2 separate regions of the Homo sapiens genome follow, and region 2 is linked to region 1. The links are contacts of gene promoters, found by promoter capture Hi-C in human tissues and cell types (Jung and others, 2019). All regions are on one chromosome and are shown on one strand. The core of a region is centred on a gene start or on the middle of the fragment in contact, and the rest is flanking DNA. Distances in the headings are between cores, read along the strand shown.

Region 1 (3,117 bases), core at 590-3,089:
CCTGCACCTCCCTGTGCTCTCCTCCTTCCTCCCTCCCCCTCCTCACTCTGCTGCAGCCACGTGGGCCTCCTCACTGTTCTTCCAACTCACCAGGTGCAGTCCTTCCTTGGGGCCTTCGTACGGGCTGTGCCCTCTGCCTGGAACTCTCTTCCCCTCAGATAGCTGGGACTACAGAAGCATGCCACTACGCCTGGCTAATTTATTTTTATTTTTATTTTTGTAGAGCTGGGGGCCTCGCTATATTGCCCAGGCCGGTCTTGAACTCCTGGCCTCAAGCAAGCCCCCCCCCCCCCCCCAACCCCGCCACCTCGGCCTCCCAAAGTGCTGGGATTTGCAGGTGTGAGCCACCACACCAGGCCCCTCTTTTCTTTATAAATTGCCCATCTTCAGGTATTACTTTATGGCAATGCAAAATGGGCAAATAAAATTAGTATCCGGAGTATGAAAAGAACTCTGGATTTAAAAGACAAATGTAAACAACCCAGTGTTTTATGATGAAAAATGTAAACAGGCAGTTCACAAAAAAGGAGCCTGGAAAGGGCTACAAATCCTGGACAAGATGCTCAGTAGCTTTGGTCATCAGGGAACTGCACGTTAAAAATCACACGATCGGCCGGGTGCGGAGGCTCACACCTGTGATCCCAGCACTTTGGGAGGCCGTGGCAGGTGGATCACTTGAGCTCAGGAGTTCTCTACAGAGGACTTGTAAGTTACTAGTAATATTCGATTTCACGAAGTGAAAAGGGCACACAGATATTTATCGTTATTCATTAAATCGTACAGATATGCTTTGTGTTATTTTATATGCATTATATGTTTCACAATTTTAAAAGGCCATGTAGGGTTCAGATGTGGTGACTCACACCTGTAATCCCAGCACTTTGGGAGGCTGAGTCGGGTGGATCGCTTGAGGCCAGGAGTTCGAGACCAGCCTGGCTGGCATGGTGAAACCCCATCTCTACTAAAAATACAAAAATTAGCTGGGCATGGTGGCGCGTGCCTATAATCCCAGCACTTTGAGAGGTCGAGGCGGGTGGATCACCTGAGGTCAGAAGTTCAAGACCAGCCTGGCTGGTATGGCGAAACCCCATCTCTACTAAAAATATAAAAATTAGGCCGAGTATGGCGGCTCACGCCTGTAATCCCAGCACTTTGGGAGGCCAAGGCGGGTGGATCACGAGGTCAGGAGATTGAGACTATCCTGGCTAATGTGGTGAAACCCCATCTCTACTAAAAAATACAAAAAATTAGCCGGGCATGGTGGCAGGCACCTGTAGTCCCAGCTACTCAGGAGGCTGAGGCAGGAGAATGGTGTGAACCTGGGAGGCGAAGCTTGCAGTGAGCCGAGATTGCGCCTGGGCAACAGAGCAAGACTCTGTCTCAAAAAAAAAAAAAAAATTAGCTGGACATGGTGGCAGGCGCCTGTAATCTCAGCTACTTGGGAGGTTGAGGTGGGAGTATCACTTGAGCCTGGGAGGCAGAGGTTGCAGTGAGCTGAGATCGTGCCACTGCACTATAGCCTGGGCAAAAGAGTGAGACCCTGTCTCAAAAAAAAAAGAAAAGAAAACGCATGCCCTTCTCCCATACCACTGGCACCTGTCACTCTTCAAGAGGTGTGGTTCTGGCCATCTGGCAAGGCACCTGGAGCTGGGACATCTGGTCACTCAGGTGTTTTCTTCTTCCTGCAAAGACAGTCAACAGGTAGCCCCTCCTGGAAACCTGAACATGAGCTGCCCCTTCCCAGCCCCCGTCACCCTCTCCGTCCAGCCAGGATGATGGTGGTGGTGGGAGGCAGGAGGATGGGTGGTTTCCCTCCACAACAGGCCTTCTACCCCATTCAACCTTCCAGAACGTTCCATCCCAGCCACCTCTTGTGACATCACTGGCTGCCCCTGCCTCCGCACCCCACCCCCACCCCTAGGGGAAGCTGCTTCCAGGACAGGGAGATTGCTCTTTTCATGCATCATTCATTTATTCATGCATGCATGCACTTCTGCGTTGCATTCGTGACGTTTTTATGAAGCCATGACCCTAATGGCAGGGATTGTGCTGGATGCTGGAGACATAAAGATGAACAAAGCCAGATGAGGCCTGTTCAAGAAAATAAGAGGAGGCCTAGAATCACACAAACAAATGCAAACTTACCATTGTGAAGAGAGCCCCAAGGCATGTTGAGGGCTTGATCAAAGGATCCCGCCCAGGCAGGGAGTCTGGGAGTGGTTTCTTTCTTTTCTTTCGTTTTTTGAGACGGGAGTCTTGCTCTGTCACCCAGGCTGGAGTGCAATGGTGCGATCTCAGTTCACTGCAACGTCTGCCTCCCAGGTTCAAGCGATTCTCCTGCCTCAGCCTCCCGAGTAGCTGGGATTACAGGCGCCCGCCACCACGCCCGGCTAATCTTTTGTATTTTTAGTACAGACGGGGTTTCGCCATGTTGGCCAGGCTGGTCTCAAACTCCTGACCTTGTGATCCGCCCGCCTTGGCCTCCCAAAGTGCTGAGATGACAGGCGTGAGCCACCGCGCCTGGCCTGGGAGTGGTTTCTTGAGCTGGGATCTGAAGTATGCCTGGATGTTATTCCTGCCCTCGTGACTTTCTCTTACGCTGCCTGTCTTCATGTGTTTACAGCGGCCTCCCCCTTCTCGTTCTCTGCTTTAGTCACTGCTAACAATGTCCACTACCAGGCACAGTGGCTTGTGCCTGGAATCCCAGCACTTTGGGAGGCCAAGTCCGTAGCATCACTTGAGGCCAGGAGTTCAAAACCAGCCTGGGCAATGTAGTAAGACCCCGTCTCTACAGAAAAATTTAAAAAATTAGCCGGGCGTGGTGGTGCGCAAGTGTAACCACAGCTAGTAGGGAGGCTGAGGTGGGGGGATTGTTTGAGCCCAGGAGTTCCAGGCTGCAGTGAGCTGTGATGGTACCATGGCACTCCAGCCAGGCCTACAGAGCAAGACCTTGTCTCAAAACAAAAAAGACAAAACAGTGCCAGGTGCAGCACATACTAGATGCTCAGTAAATAAAGATGTAGCAACAGAATCTTGTGCTGTGCCAGGAGAAAAGGACAAGGAGTGTTCCTTTGTCTCCAGGGCCTTTTGTGTGTGTGTGTGAGAGAGAGAGAGAGA
Region 2 (2,955 bases), core at 109-2,608, 300 kb after region 1:
GGTGGCTCACGCCTGTAATCCCAGCACTTTGGGAGGCCGAGGCGGGCGGATCACAAGGTCAGGAGATCGAGACCATCCTGGCTAACATGTCTCTACTAAAAATACAAAAAAAAAAAAAAAAATTAGCTGGGCGTGATGGCGGACGCCTGTAGTCCCAGCTACTTGGGGCAGGAGAATGGCGTGAACCCAGGAGGCAGAGCTTGCCATGAGCCGAGATCGTGCCACTGCACTCCAGCCTGGGCCACAGAGCGAGACTCTGTCTCAAAAAAAAAAAAGAAAAAAAACCCAGCTGGGCGGAGTGGCTCATGCCTGGCCTCTAATCCCAGTACTTTAGGAGGCTGAGGCAGACAGATCACCTGAAGTCAGGAGGTCAAGATCAGCCTGGCTAACATGGCGAAAACCAGCTCTATTAAAAAAATACGAAAGTTACCCAGTGCCGTGTCACGCGCCTGTAGTCCCAGCTACTCGGGAGGCTGGGGCATGAGAATCGCTTGAGCCCGGGAGGCATAGGTTACAGTAAACTGAGACTGTGCCACTGCACTCCAGCCCGAGTGACAGAGCAAGATTCCATCTCAAAAAAAAGAGAGAGATAGGGGTATCTCTGTTTTCCCTAGGCTGGTCTCAGACTCCTGGGCTCAAGCGATCTTCCTGCCTCTCCTTCCCAAACTGTTGGGATTACAGGTGTGAGTCACTGTGCATGGCCTCAGAAGTCTTTTTTTTTTTTTTTTTTTTTTTTGAGACAGAGTCTTGCACTGTCGCCCAGGCTGGAGTGCAGTGGCTCAATCTAGGCTCACTGCAAGCTCCGCCTCCCGGGTTCACACCATTCTCCTGCCTCAGCCTCCCAAGTAGCTGGGACTACAGGCACCCACTACCACGCCTGGCTAATTTTTTTGTATTTTTAGTAGAGACAGGGTTTCACCATGTTAGTCAGGATGGATGGTCTTGATCTTCTGATCTCGTGATCTGCCCACCTCGGCCTCCCAAAGTGTTGGGATTACAGGCGTGAGCCACCACGCCCGGCCCCCAGAAGTCATTTTTTTAATAAGTTACAGTCAACCTCACCAGTCAAGGAATGAGACATGAGTGGAATTAGGTTGCCACTTCTGGAGCTCTGGGAGACCCCAACCCCCTGGCCCATCCCTACCTCCCAGAACCTCACTGGTCTGGGCGTGGCTGGGCACTGAGATAGTAGAACTCAGGCAGCATGATGCAGCCTCCCAGAAATGATTTCTAGAACAGGGCAGTCGTGATACTTGGAGGCTGGGCTTTGAGCTCGGTCACCTTTGCACCCAGCTTGGGAGTGAGAGAGTTTAAGGTCATCCTCCCTCAAAACCAGTATTCCAGATCATTTCTCTCCATTCCAGGAAGTTTGCATAGCTCCCTGGACTTCTGCTTTGCACTGCCCTGCAGGAGTGGGTGGGGAAAGGAAGTGGCTTTGAGGCACACAGAGGGGCTTGTTGAGGCCACCGGAGGAAGCTTCTGCCACCAATATGGGACCTGTGCCCAGCCTACCAGAAGAGAGCATCTGAAAACATGTATCGACATGGTAACCCCTCTGCTTGAAGCCTCACATGGCTCCCTATTGCCTTGGTGCTGAACACCCTATGGCTGACCGTGGCCCAGCCTCTGCAACAGCTCTGCCTCCTCTCCAGTGGTGAAGACCCAGCCTGCTGAGACTCCTCCTGCAGTTCCTCAACATGCCTGCATTTCTGCTGCCTCAGGGCCTTTGCGAAGGTTGTTCCTTGTAACTGGAATGCCCTTCCATCCCTTTTTTATTCAAAAGGCTGCAATTTTAATTGAAGAAAGTTCCCTTCCAAGGTTCATGAGTTGCCTGACTTGCCCACCGGTTTCCTGCAAGATCCCTTGGCCTGGCACTTAGTGCTCAGGAAATATTTGGTGATGGGCCAACTGAGTGAGAAGGTGGGATCTGGTGGGAAGGAAAGCGGAAAGGTAGAAATTCTGCTCACTTCCTCATTCCCACCTCCCAAGGAACCCCTGGTGTCCCTGTGGAACCCGCTTTGGGAACCGGTGGTTCAGGTCAGCCTTTTCACTTTGTACTCAAAGCCACATCGCATTGAAGCCACAGGTGGGGCAAGGTCATGCATGACCTGAGTCTCCAAATCCCTTCACCCTGTTTGGTTCTGCAACGGGGATTAGGGGAGCCCCACGATTTGTTTTCAAAGGATGTCCGGGCTCCAGGACAGGATGCCCTGGGTCACCTGATGACAGGTGTGGTGGTTGGAAAGGGCCTGGTTTCAGCTCCGGGTACACTTCCTCCTTCCTTCTGCTGCGTGGTGTGGCCTCTTCCACGTCCTCAGAATCCAGCTGTTACTCCGTCCGCGGCCTCTCAGCTCTAGGGCCCTCTGCACACTGGCCCCCCCAGGTAAGGCCTCTTGTCCCACTTTCACCCCCAACCCGGATCGCATGGGTCCAGGGAAAGGCCTCCTGGCTCCGAGCCTCCTCCCCTCAGCCTCAGTCCTGTCTGCTGTAATTCAGAGTGCGGGTGGGCTGGCACAAGATCCCTGGGGGAGGGTCTGCAGGCTGTGCAGTGGCCTGGCATTTGGCCAGCAGCCCCTAGTCGCAGGCAGGGGTCTTTCTGGATGCACCGAGGTGGGCTGAGGATATGGGAGGTCTGGCTGATTTGCCAAACCAGGAGGAAGTGGGTGTCTGTCTGTCTCTCTTGCAGAGCTCTGCGGTAGAATCCCGTGCCCCCCGACCCCATCAGCAGCCTACACCCCTTCATCCTTCCTGGCCCCGGATTTTCTCTGCCTCTGCCACTCCCGGTGGTAAAAGAGGGCTTAGAATGCGGTTTGCTTTCTGGCTTTGTTTTTTTGCATCCTGATCTTTGTGGCGTGGATCGATCATTTTCCAGGGAAAGTACCTTGGGTGAGATCTCTCTCCTGGACTCCCGTTCCCCGTTTCCCCCAATCTCCCCTCCTGAAGGTCACCGGCAAA

What was found. Contacts are between HindIII fragments. The study calls those that stand out against the background at their distance.
Region 2: a contact is called between the fragment with the promoter of FUT6 here and the fragment with the promoter of ACSBG2 in region 1, in 1 of the 25 tissues and cell types used here (stomach).

Annotation. Positions count from the first base shown.
Region 1 is chr19:6,134,389-6,137,505 of GRCh38, reverse strand. It overlaps ACSBG2 (acyl-CoA synthetase bubblegum family member 2), which reads right to left and starts at 1,839. Exons shown (of 15, transcript NM_030924.5): 1 at 1,597-1,839. All of the region lies in intron 3 of LOC105372255 (a long non-coding RNA gene), which reads left to right. RefSeq lists enhancers at 1,069-1,971, 1,972-2,875. The HindIII fragment of the contact is 13,898 bases long and covers 231-3,117 here.
Region 2 is chr19:5,838,105-5,841,059 of GRCh38, reverse strand. FUT6 (fucosyltransferase 6) reads left to right here and starts at 1,358. Exons shown (of 3, transcript NM_000150.4): 1 at 1,358-2,383. The HindIII fragment of the contact is 16,612 bases long and covers 1-2,955 here.